Linked DNA regions of Homo sapiens: all the other regions are linked to region 4. The links are contacts of gene promoters, found by promoter capture Hi-C in blood cells and fetal thymus (Javierre and others, 2016). All regions are on one chromosome and are shown on one strand. Each heading gives the region's core, a stretch centred on a gene start or on the middle of the fragment in contact. The rest is flanking DNA. Distances are from core to core; before and after follow the strand shown. Region 1 overlaps LINC01447 (long intergenic non-protein coding RNA 1447). Region 2 overlaps TNS3 (tensin 3). Region 3 overlaps PKD1L1 (polycystin 1 like 1, transient receptor potential channel interacting). Region 4 holds the start of PKD1L1-AS1 (PKD1L1 antisense RNA 1).

Region 1 (2,778 bases), core at 168-2,667, 160 kb before region 4:
ATTACTCAGGTGTTTGTGGGGTTGCTGATGTGAACAAACCTGCATGGCCAGTTGCATAAAAGTATAGCACACACGATTATGTACAGCCCATAATACGTGATAGTGATAATAAATGACTGTTACTGGTTTATGTATTATATGTTTTTTGTTTGTTTGTTTGTTTTTTGACACAAGGTTTGGCTCTGTCACCCTGGCTGGAGTGCAGTGGTGTAATCTCAGCTCACTGCAACCTCTGCCTCCCAGGCTTAAGCCATCCTCCCACCTCAGCCTCCTGAGTAGCTGGAATTACAGGCGGGTGCCATGGCTAACTTTCGTATTTTTTGTGGCGACGGGGTTTTGCCATGTTGCACAGGCTGGTCTTGAACTCATGAGCTTAAGTGATCCACCTGCCTCAGCCTTCCAAAGTGCTGGGATTATAGATGTGAGCCACTGCGGCCGGCATATATATATATATGTGTGTGTGTGTGTGTGTGTGTATACGTTTGTGTGTGTGTATATATATATATTTTTTTCTTTTTTTGAGATGGATTTTTTTTTTTTTTTTTGCTCTTGTTGCCCAGGATGGAGTGCAATGGCATGATCTCGGCTCACTGCAACCTCCCCTTCCCGGGTTCAAGTGATTCTCCTGCCTCAGCCTCTCTAGTAGCTGAGATTATAGGCGTGCGCCACCACACCCAATTAATTTTTTATTTTTAGTGGAGATGGGGGTTTATCCATGTTGGTCAGGCTGGTCTCGAACTCCCCACCTCAGGAGATCCACCCCCTCGGCCTCCCAAAGTGCTGGGATTACAGGAGTGAGCCACCAGGCCCCGGCCTATTATACTTTTTATTGTTATTTTAGAGTTTACTTTTGCTTATAAAAAAGAAGTTAACTGTAAAACAGCCCCAGGCAGGCCCTTCAGGAAGCATCCAGAAGAAGGCATTGTTATCACAGGTGAGAGCTCCATGCATGTTATTGGCCCTAAAGACCTCCTGATGGGATGAGATGTGGAGGTGGAAGACAGTGATATTGATGGTTCTCACCTTGTGTATGCCTAGGCTAGTGTGTCTGTGTGTTAATTTTTAACAAAAAATGTGAAAATTTAAAAATAAGACTTTAAAAATAGAAAAAAGCTTATTTAATAAGGATATTAAAAAGAGAAAATATTTTTGTACAGCTATAAATTGTGTTTGCATTTTAAGCCAGATGTTATTTTAAAAAGTCAAAAAGCTAAAAAATGTAAAAGTTTATAAAGTAAAAAAGTTACAGGAAGCTAAGTTTAATTTATAATTGAAGAAAGAAAATTTAAAAATAAATTTAGGCCAGGTACAGTGGCTCACGCCTGTAATCCCAGCACTTTGGGAGGCTGAAGCGGGTGGATCGTCAGAGGTCAGGAGTTCAAGACCAGCCTGGCCAATATGGCAAAAATCCATCTCTACTAAAAATACAAAAAGTAGCCCAGTGTGGTGGCACACACCTGTAATCCCAGCTACTTGGGAGGCTGAGGTGGGAGAATTGCTTGAGCCAGGGAGGTGGAGGTTGCAGTGAGCCGAGATTGCGCCACTGCACTCCAGCCTGAGTAACAGAGCGAGACTCCATCTCAAAATAAATAAATAAAATTAAATGTATTGTAGACTAAGTGCAGTGTTTATAGAGTTTACAAAGGTGTACAGTAATGTCTTAGACCTTCACATTCACTCACCACTCACTCACTGCCTCACCCAGAGCAGCCTTCAGTCCTACAAGCTTCATTCCTGACAATGCCCTATCCAGGTGGACCATTTTTTTTTTATCTTTTGTATACTGTAACTTTACTGTACTTTTTCTATGCTTAGATAGGTCCAGATACACAAATACTTACACTATGTTACAATTGCCTATAGTATACAGTACCAGAACACGTTGGACAGGCTTGTAGCCTAGGAGCAATCTGCTGTCCGGTGTAGCCTAGGTGAGTAGGAGGCTCCACCACCTCGGTTTGTGTAAGTGCACTCCATGACCGCACAATGACAAAATCTCAGAACGTATCCCCGCCATGAAGTGGTGCATCACTGCACACATAGGCCACATATGCACCCGGGCTGGACTTTCAGTAAGCACCTGCCCCCTTGTGCTAGTGTCTGAGGAGACTCAGCATGCTGAAATGTCCCGCAGTGAAGGGGAAATGTGGAATGAGGGACACCGGCATGTGCGATGGGCAAGAACCAGCTTGGAGCTGGTTCGGCCACCAGGCACTGGCTCGGGGCAGCTGAGCAGGCCCTTAACTAGCTCGCCTTCCTGCAGGCATCTTTTGCACACCTGCTGTGTGCCGGGTGCTGGTTGAAGATGCAACCTCTGACCTTTAGGGATTGCAAGCTTGAGCTCGGTGGGGACACAGATGATAGATAAATAACACAGTGTGATAACCATCTGGTCAGGGATGGAACCTGATGAGGAAGAAGTGACTGGAATCCTCCTGGGCTGGAAGGTGGGGGAGCTTTTATGTCTGCAGTCTCTTTGGGTAGGGAAGAAAATGAAGCAGGGGAGGCCTTCCTGTAAGGGGAGTCAGTCCAGGGTGTCAGGGGGTGGGTGGGAGAGGAACCTGGGAAGGCTGCAGGGCTGCACACTGTGCGTGGGGCAGTGGAGGCTCAGAATTTGGCACCCTGGGTGATGTCCAGCCATCAGAGTGTTTGAGGTGGGGGCAGTGCTTCAATCAGATGAATATTTTAGGAAGAACAGGCTGAAGGCAGCCATGTGGGGCTGGGGCAGGATGGGGGCCTGGGAGGGGACATAAGGTTGGGGCTGAGAGGCCCTCTGAC
Region 2 (2,700 bases), core at 103-2,602, 240 kb before region 4:
CATCGGGTATGAAAAACTCACCTCTAAGAGGGCATAAACTCTAGTCCATCTGTCCATCCGGTTCAGAGGGATCCCCCTGCCTAGAACACAGCTAAGGATTTGCTGAATGAATGAATGATACTCCTGATGGGCCCTGGCACACAGACCACCTACTGGCCCATTCCAGGTTTTTCATGCTCTGACCAGAACACTGCAGTATCAACTCTACCCACGTCCCCGCCCTCCCACCCCATCCCCACAACCTAGTTACTTCGTTTGGCTCTTGACAGGGGTGCCAGACCCATGCCTTGGTCTCCTCTCCCCTCTTCCATCCCTCCCACCCATCCCCACTCAGCTAAACATTGGTCCCCAAATGCAACACTGAGGTCTCCCCTGCGAGGCCTTCTCAGGGTGGATCGGGCAAGGTCTTCTGGCCCCAGGCCTCAGGGCCCCACAAAAGTTCTTACATCACAGGGAAGCCCTGCACCCTCACCCTGCCCTTCACCTATCCAAGGCCCAGACGCGAGAAGGGGTCCATGCCTGTTTGCTGAATTAATGAAGGAAGGAAGAAGGGAAATGGGAATAGAAACACGGCCCCATGGTTCCATGGCCAGCAATGTCCACAGGAAGCCTTGATGTATGGAGAGGGCTTGGTGAACTGCACAGCCCTTTGCAAAAGATAAACGCGTAGAACAAATGGGTGAGCAGCCAGACCACAGGATCCGTCCTGTAAGGCGGTAACCTTGGCTTGCTGTCCCTCTGACCTTCACCTTCCCAACCTCATGTAAGCAAGATGCTGTCCCTAGTTGTCCCACAGCAAGACAGCTAGGACCAGGAGATAGAAGCACAAAGACACATTTGCAGCAGGGTCTCAATGGGCAAGGCACATGAGAACAAAATCTCTATGTTCTCATTTCAAACACATATCACAATGGTCAATTCTCCTTCAAGGAATGTGTTCTAAGGCAATGACCATGCCTGGAAAGATCTACGTGGAAGGGCAGGGTACAGAATTATGCACAACAAAAAAGGCTGGAAGCAGTTTTAATAGCCAGCAACTGGGCTCTGGTCATTTTATGGTACTAACATAGAATGGGATTCGAATACTATGAAGTCACTAAAAATAATAATCACATCCATATTCACTTATATGGAAAACGCCCATGGGATATTAACAAAGTTACAAAACAAAACAGACCTAAGTTTTGGTCATTCCTAAACAGTCTTACCCCACTCCTGAGGAGTCATGCCACCCCAAAGAGACAGAATTTTGCTGTGGAGTGACTGAGCACATCTCCCAAGTCTGCACCCAGCCAAGGAACATGAGCTCACTCAGAAAAAGGGCAAGGAGGGGCTCAGCCTCTTGGGAGCCTGGGTGAATAGCATTCACCAGACCTGTGGGAAGCGCCAGGAAGATCTTCCTAAAACACCCGGTTCCTTCAGGAAGCATCTCCTCGGAGTGCCCCTGCTTCTTTCTCAAATGGGCAAGGTGGGCTCCCTGCTGCACAGAGGGCAGACAAGCTCTAGCACCTGAGCTCCCGGGCAGAAGGCTGGCCTGGTGTCCACTTCCTGCCGCTGGACTCGGGAACTGAGCAAAAGCAGGTGGCTAGACCCTGGGCACGTCCTGAAGGTGGAGGCCCAGTGGGGCACAGCCATGGACTGGATGGTTCTGTCTCACTCCAGGTGTTTCCTTAAGCAAATGGGGAGACCACGGAGGAGGTGGGTGAGGGCACAAAACGTCATGTGGCTGGAGCCCTGGGTGTGGCCACCTCAGGCCAAAGGGAAGGAGCTAGAGTTCCAGCATAGCCACCAGGAGCAGGGGAGCCTTTGGCTGGGTCAGGGTTCAAAACTACAGGCAAGGAGACCCCCAGTGGAATAATTCATGCCTTGGGGAGCACTTTGAAAAGTCATTGGACAGTCTACAATGAGAACTACGAAAACATTCGCACTGCAGACCCTGCTCTTTCCACACCTGTGAATCTCAACTCAGTAAGTGTCCACAGACAGGAGAGAAACAACACCCCACACAGGCAAAGTTAAGTCAGCAGACCAAGGTTCACACTGTGCACATGTGTGTTAGATAAGTAGAGAGTAAGAAGTGTGCAAATTCATGGAATGGAAGTATGGCTGTTATCACCCTAAATTCTTGCACTTGCAGAGACTGAAATAACAGGGAATGACGTCTGCTAAGGCACAGCTGGAGCGGGGCAGGGGTGGGGTGGAGAGGGAGGCTACAAAACCGTGTGTCCACCGGGAGCGATCCTTGGCCTCTCTGCAAATGCACTTCTTGTGTTGGAGTGCTTTTACAAGGAAAATGGAAACATTTAAACAGACATTGAAAAGGGGCGGCATTCTTACCCACCATATTTATCTGCATAAACCTCCCCACGCCCATCACATTCTTCTGGCACACCTAATTCATTTCTTTTTTTTTCATTATTTTTCTCCTGAGGCTATTTTGGCTGCAAGATAGATTCTAACAGAATAACAGGGATTTAACAAATAAAAGGAATGCTTAGGGATGCGTTAACAGTAATCTTGCCAAGCCAGGAAGCCGTCTAGAGCTTGGCACATGAGTGAAGGCGAGAAACAATTTGCCTGGAGAAACAAGAAGAAAAATAACAACAAAAAATCACTCTCTGCCTCCGTTGCAGAAATCAACAAGACACACACAGGCAGACAGACCTCGTTTTATTGTGCTTTGCTTTATTGAACTTTGCA
Region 3 (2,796 bases), core at 145-2,644, 150 kb after region 4:
CCCATTCCCAGCGACAGGGCAATGGGAACCGTTGCCAAGTTCCCAGCTCCATATAGGCTGCTGTGCTAAGGAGAAGGGCAGGCTCTACATCCACTTCTTCTAGACACAGGCAGTCACCTTGCCTCTCTGTGTCAGTCTCCTTCTCTGTTTGAGAGGAACGACACAGACCTACTTCACGGGGCTGCTGCCAGGACTGTCATTCTAGAAAGGGCCGCCCTGTATTAGCTAAATGCTTGGTAACCAGCTGCTAAAGGTGTTCGCCTTTGTTCTTTCCCCTGAAAAATGCATTCAGCTCTTTAGAATTCTCTTTTTTACCTGTCTTGGATGTCTATAAAGTCTAGAGGATATCTACTTTATCTTAAGCAAGGTTTCTACAAAGATAAAACTGGATAGTTTCACCCAATTTTTACAAGCCTGGTTCTTGATGCCCAAGAAGCCGCCACCAGAGGGCAGACGAGGACAATATTTATAGTTGAGGAAAGTGTGCAGGGAGGTGAAAAGCTGTTATTTTGAAGATGAAGATGGTCACTAGGTCAAAGGCCTCAAACTGTTGAATAATTCCAAGGATTTCCTTGCCTACTCTCAACTATGCTTGTCTTCCAAAGGCCAGAGAAATGAAAAAATAAAAAATAACAATAATAGAAAAGGGGACAACTTTGGAATCATACAGACCAGACCAGATCAGACTTAGAGGATTTCTGCAATGATCTAGCGGGCAAATAAAATTAAGGAAAGGACGAACCTAACCTCTGTCCACCACGTGCGCCCCACAGTCCACAGCTGTGAGACTGCCCACCACTCTGGGCCCACACAAGGTTAGATAGCCCTGGCACCCACCAAGTTCCGAGACCCTCCCAGACACCCCCACAACAGGATAACTTCCAAGTGCTACACACAGAAAACACCAGCCCTGGTTCCTGGGACATAGTTGGCCCTTGAGAAGTAATTTTCTGTCTCAGAAGGTGAGAAACACATCCCCAACAGGTGTGTCCTCCACTCACAGAGGCGCCAAGGATAGTGCTGCAAAGCTAATTTTCCTTGAGATTTCAGAGGTCTTTTCAAATAAAAAAAATGGAAGGGGGAGATAATTTAAATACAAGGGAGGCTCTTTTTCCTGGTGTTGTGAGGAGGCAGGTCCCCAGGCCCTGGCACAGAATCAGCACCATTTTCACAGAGGTACCTGGCTTCCTCTTAGTTAACTGTGACTGTCGGGGAACAGGATGATACTGATGGCTCAAACACAGTCTCTGAGGCATCATGTGCCTCAAGGGAACTAGTCGAGCCATTTGTTTGAATTACATGACAGATCTCTTAGAATCCCTTAAGAGTGAGTGTTTTTCGGGGCCTGTCAGGGGCTGGGGGGCAAGGGGAGGGAGAGCATTAGGACAAATACCTACCACACAAACACACACCACACACTCACACCACACCACACTCACACCACACAAACACACCACACAGCATCACACACAATATACACACACCACACAGCACATACCCACCCACCACACACACATCGCACACACCACACACCACGCACCACACAAACACACCATACACACAAACACCACACACACACCAACACATTACACACACATCACACAGCACACACCATGTATCACACACACACCATACCCCACTCATACCATACCACACATACACCACACACTACACACAGACCACACACCACACCACCCACACACATGTCCTATACCACACACACACACACAGACACTACAGGCCTAACTCCATGAAATGAGGGCTACAGGAGAGTCAAGAAACCTCTTCTGTTTCTATGAACAAGATCAGTCACTGTCTTGCTTTAGGTGACTCAGGAAACCCCAAAAGGCTATGACTTCAGAAATGGGGCCTCGACACCAATTACAATGGCTAGTGCGTGCATGAACTAGTTGGTCTGCAAGTACAAGATGTATAAATATACAGGGGAAAAAACATCAAGTCAGCGACTTCCGCTCCTCAGCTTTTCTTTCCTTTCTAAGGGCAAAGGGGTAATTCCTTGCAATTCCCTGACTGATAAGAGTGAAGGTCAAATTGGGCCAACATCAAGGCTCTGGGAGTCTGCAGGAGCATGGGCATTTGGAATAAAAGAAACATGAGGTAACCAGAAAAAATAAGGGAAAAAATTGTAGCCAAAATCAGACAATGCTTGGCAGCAGTGAGTGACATAAGGCAAAGAAATTTCCAAGCATGAATGTGACCAACCCCGTCAACACGTGCAGCCTCATTTTCTCATCCTGGTTTGCTTTGGGTTTCTTTGATAAAATGATGGTGATGGCACAAAGACAGTAAGCTAACAAAGGCAGAAATGCTGACAGCAAGCATTCATCAAGGATACTGATTTTTATAACGACCCTCTGGAGTTTACAGATGTGACAACAGGGGTACTCAGATTTTCAGGATGAGAAATCTGGGGGTGAGGAGGTAAAGTGACCTGCAGTGGCGGGGTACCCCACTGGGCAAGATCTGCAGGCACAGGCTCCCATCATGCCAGGCCAGGGGACAGCGGTGACCCACCTGGGTCCTTACCACATCCCACAGGCAGGTCACCTTGCTGGCCTCACGCCCAGGAAAGGGGGCATGGAGGTTTGCACCATGTCACACTGCCATGAGACAGTCAACAGCAGAGCACACAGGCTGCCCAGCCTCAACAACACATGGGTGCTGGCGCGCACAGAGCATGGGGAAGAGGGTTTAGAAATAAGACCCATGGAGGCTGGGTGCGGTGGCTTATGCCTGTAATCCCAGTACTTTGGGAGGCCAAGGCGGGCAGATCAC
Region 4 (2,700 bases), core at 19-2,518:
TCAAAAGGTGACTTGGGTGCTGTTAAAAGCATTCCGTTTTAAATGGGAAATGGAACATAAAAGTTAAAGAAATTTGCAGCCTGACAATGCAGTGGAAAAGAAAAACTCATTTTCTGGGGAGAAGTTCAAGCCAGCTGCAGAAATTTGCATAAGTAGCAAGCAGCCTAATGTTAATCCCCAAGGCCATGGGGAAAATGTCGCCAAGTCATGTCAGAGACCTTCACAGCAGCCTCTCCCATCATAGGCCTGGATGCCAAGGAGGAATAAGTGGTTTAGTGGACTGGGCCCAGGTTCCCCGTGCTGTGTGCAGCCTAGAGACTTGGTGCCCTGTGTCCCAGTTGCTCCAGCCATGGCCGAAAGGGGCCATTGTACAACTTGGGCTGGGGCTTCAGAGAGTGGAACCCCCAAGCCTTGGCAGCTTCCATGTGGTATTGAGCCTATGGGTGCACAGAAGTCAAGAATTGAGGTTTAGGAACCTCAGCCTAGATTTCAGAAGATGTATGGAAATGCCTGGATACCCAGGCAAAAGTTTTCTGCAGGGGCGGGGCCCTTATGGAGAACTGCTAGGGCAGTGTGGAAGGGACCTAGTGGAGCTGTGAGAAGAGGGCCACCATCCTCCAGACTCCAGAATGGTGGATCCTCTGACAACTTGCACTGTGCACCTGGAAAAGCCACAGACACTCAATGCCAGCCCATGAAAGCAGCCAGGAAGGAGGCTGTACCCTGCAAAGCTACAGGGGCAGAGCTGCCCAAGACCATGGGAACCCACCTCTGGCATCAGCATCACCTACATGTGAGCCCTGGAATCAAAGGAGATCATTTTGGAGCTTTAAAATTTGATTGACCTGTTGGATTTTGGACTGGTATGGGGCCTGTAACCCCTTGGTTTTGGCCAATTTCTCCCATTTGGAACAGTTGTATTTACCCAATCCCTGTACCCCCATTGTATCTAGGAAGTAACTAACTTATTTTTTATTTTACAGGCTCATAGGTGGAAGGGACTTGCCTTGTCTCAGATGACACTTTGGACTGTGGACTTTTGGGTTAATGCTAAAATGAGTTAAGACTTTGGGGGACTTTTGGGAAGGCATAATTGGTTTTGAAATGTGAGGACATGAGATTTGGAGGGGGCCAGGAGCAGAATGATATTGTTTGGCTGTGTCCCTATTCAAATCTCAACTAGAATTATATCTCCCAGAATTCCCACATGTTGTGGGAGGGACCTAGTGGGAGGTAATTGAATCATAGGGGCTGGTCTTTCTCATGCTATTCTTGTGATAGTGAAGAAGTCTCACAAGATCTGATCATTTATAATGGGTTTCCACTTTTGCATCTGGATCATTTTTCTCTTGCCACCACCATGTAAGAAGTGCCTTTCACCTCCCACCATGAACCTGAGGCCTCCCAAGTCATGTGGAAATGTAAGTCCAATTAAACTTCTTTTTGTTCCCAGTTTTGGGTATGTCTTTATCAGCAGTATGAAAACAAACTAATATATCAGCCATGAAGAAAGTGAGTATTCAGTGTGCAAACGCCTGGTTTGATTTGTTTACATGCATGTCTGGGGTGACTGAACTCAAGTAATGCACCTAAGGCTCTATGTTTTGGATAGAAGTTTGGGTTTGATAGCAGGCACCAAAAGCAAATGACTAACTCAGGGGACAGAATACAGCATGTCTGTGTCCTGGGGAAGACCATAAACTCTGTCTTTCCAACTGTACAGGTCACTATAAGGATATAGTGAGTTAAGGCAGGAGAATGTGCTTGGTAATCTGTAAAGTGTTTTAGAATTGCACGGGAAAATTCCATGAGTTCCACTATGATTGAGACTAATTTTGTGGCTTTGCAAGGAGATTTGGCATGGAAACATACTCATGCTTTGATAACTGAAAGCAAAATTCTGCAATGAAACCATCATCTTGAGTGTGTGCTATCATGCTCAGTAATCCAAGATCTCACAGCTTACGTGATTCTCAACCATCTCAGCCTCTTCCAACTTTGGTGTTTCCAGTCTCAGAAAGGTGAGGACCTTTTCCCACATATAAGCAGTGACATCTTTAAGTCTCACAAAAGATTTACTTTGAAAAGATTTTCTTTTTTGGGGTAAAGTCATGAGAAAACCTCTCAGCTAGGAAAAAGAAAAAAATAAAGACAAATTTCATGTTAGCAGCCTAAATAAAGAGCTTTGTTAACGTGATAAACTATGCAATGGAGATTATATCTGATGATGCTACTTTACGAGCTTTTGGTAAAATAGTGATTTCTTGGTGAAAAAAAGCAAAATCAGGAAAATACCTCTCCTGAATTGAACTAAATGGCAGTAAGATGATCTCAGCAATGGAAATTCATTGTATTATAAAGGTTGTTTTCAGTATCTAACTTTGGAGACTGAGATTATCAACGCGATGTGCATGCCCATATGTAAAGTCTGTGTCTCAGTTTCAGTGTCCCCTGGTGAACCATTCTGAGCTGTGGGTGAGCCTCAGGAGAGAGGCCTGTGCCTGTGCCTGGGAGACCAGAAAGGGTCTTGGGCTCAGCAAGTTGTTGTGCCCTCAACATGTGCTCTATAAGCCTCCAGGTGGTTTATTTCTTCACTGCAGGCTGTAAGCTGTTAGCTCAAAAGCCTACTGGTAACAAACTCGAATTTTTACACATCCAATTGTTTAAAAAATAACCCAAACAGGGCTGGGCGCAGTGGCT

What was found. The method cuts DNA at HindIII sites, captures the fragments that hold promoters and counts their contacts. A CHiCAGO score of 5 or more calls a contact.
Region 1: a fragment that was not itself captured here is called in contact with the fragment with the promoter of PKD1L1-AS1 in region 4 in 3 of 17 cell types (total B cells, M1 macrophages and naive B cells); the score reaches 11.9 in total B cells.
Region 2: a fragment that was not itself captured here is called in contact with the fragment with the promoter of PKD1L1-AS1 in region 4 in 4 of 17 cell types (total B cells, naive B cells, M2 macrophages and 1 more); the score reaches 10.2 in total B cells.
Region 3: a fragment that was not itself captured here is called in contact with the fragment with the promoter of PKD1L1-AS1 in region 4 in 1 of 17 cell types (M2 macrophages); the score reaches 5.3 in M2 macrophages.

The regions. Positions count from the first base shown.
Region 1 is chr7:47,629,761-47,632,538 of GRCh38, forward strand. LINC01447 (long intergenic non-protein coding RNA 1447) reads left to right here. Exons shown (of 4, transcript NR_108090.1): 4 at 1-133. Among named protein-coding and RNA genes, the nearest start is that of LINC01447, 9.2 kb to the left of the region's middle. The HindIII fragment of the contact is 613 bases long and covers 1,112-1,724 here.
Region 2 is chr7:47,549,709-47,552,408 of GRCh38, forward strand. All of the region lies in intron 1 of TNS3 (tensin 3), which reads right to left. Among named protein-coding and RNA genes, the nearest start is that of TNS3, 31 kb to the right of the region's middle. The HindIII fragment of the contact is 4,599 bases long and covers 1-2,700 here.
Region 3 is chr7:47,944,954-47,947,749 of GRCh38, forward strand. The region is part of intron 1 of PKD1L1 (polycystin 1 like 1, transient receptor potential channel interacting); the gene reads right to left. Among named protein-coding and RNA genes, the nearest start is that of PKD1L1, 2.1 kb to the right of the region's middle. The HindIII fragment of the contact is 4,025 bases long and covers 1-2,796 here.
Region 4 is chr7:47,794,023-47,796,722 of GRCh38, forward strand. PKD1L1-AS1 (PKD1L1 antisense RNA 1) reads left to right here and starts at 1,269. Exons shown (of 4, transcript NR_161269.1): 1 at 1,269-1,421. It overlaps PKD1L1 (polycystin 1 like 1, transient receptor potential channel interacting), which reads right to left. Exons shown (of 57, transcript NM_138295.5): 55 at 1,967-2,128. The HindIII fragment of the contact is 8,231 bases long and covers 1-2,700 here.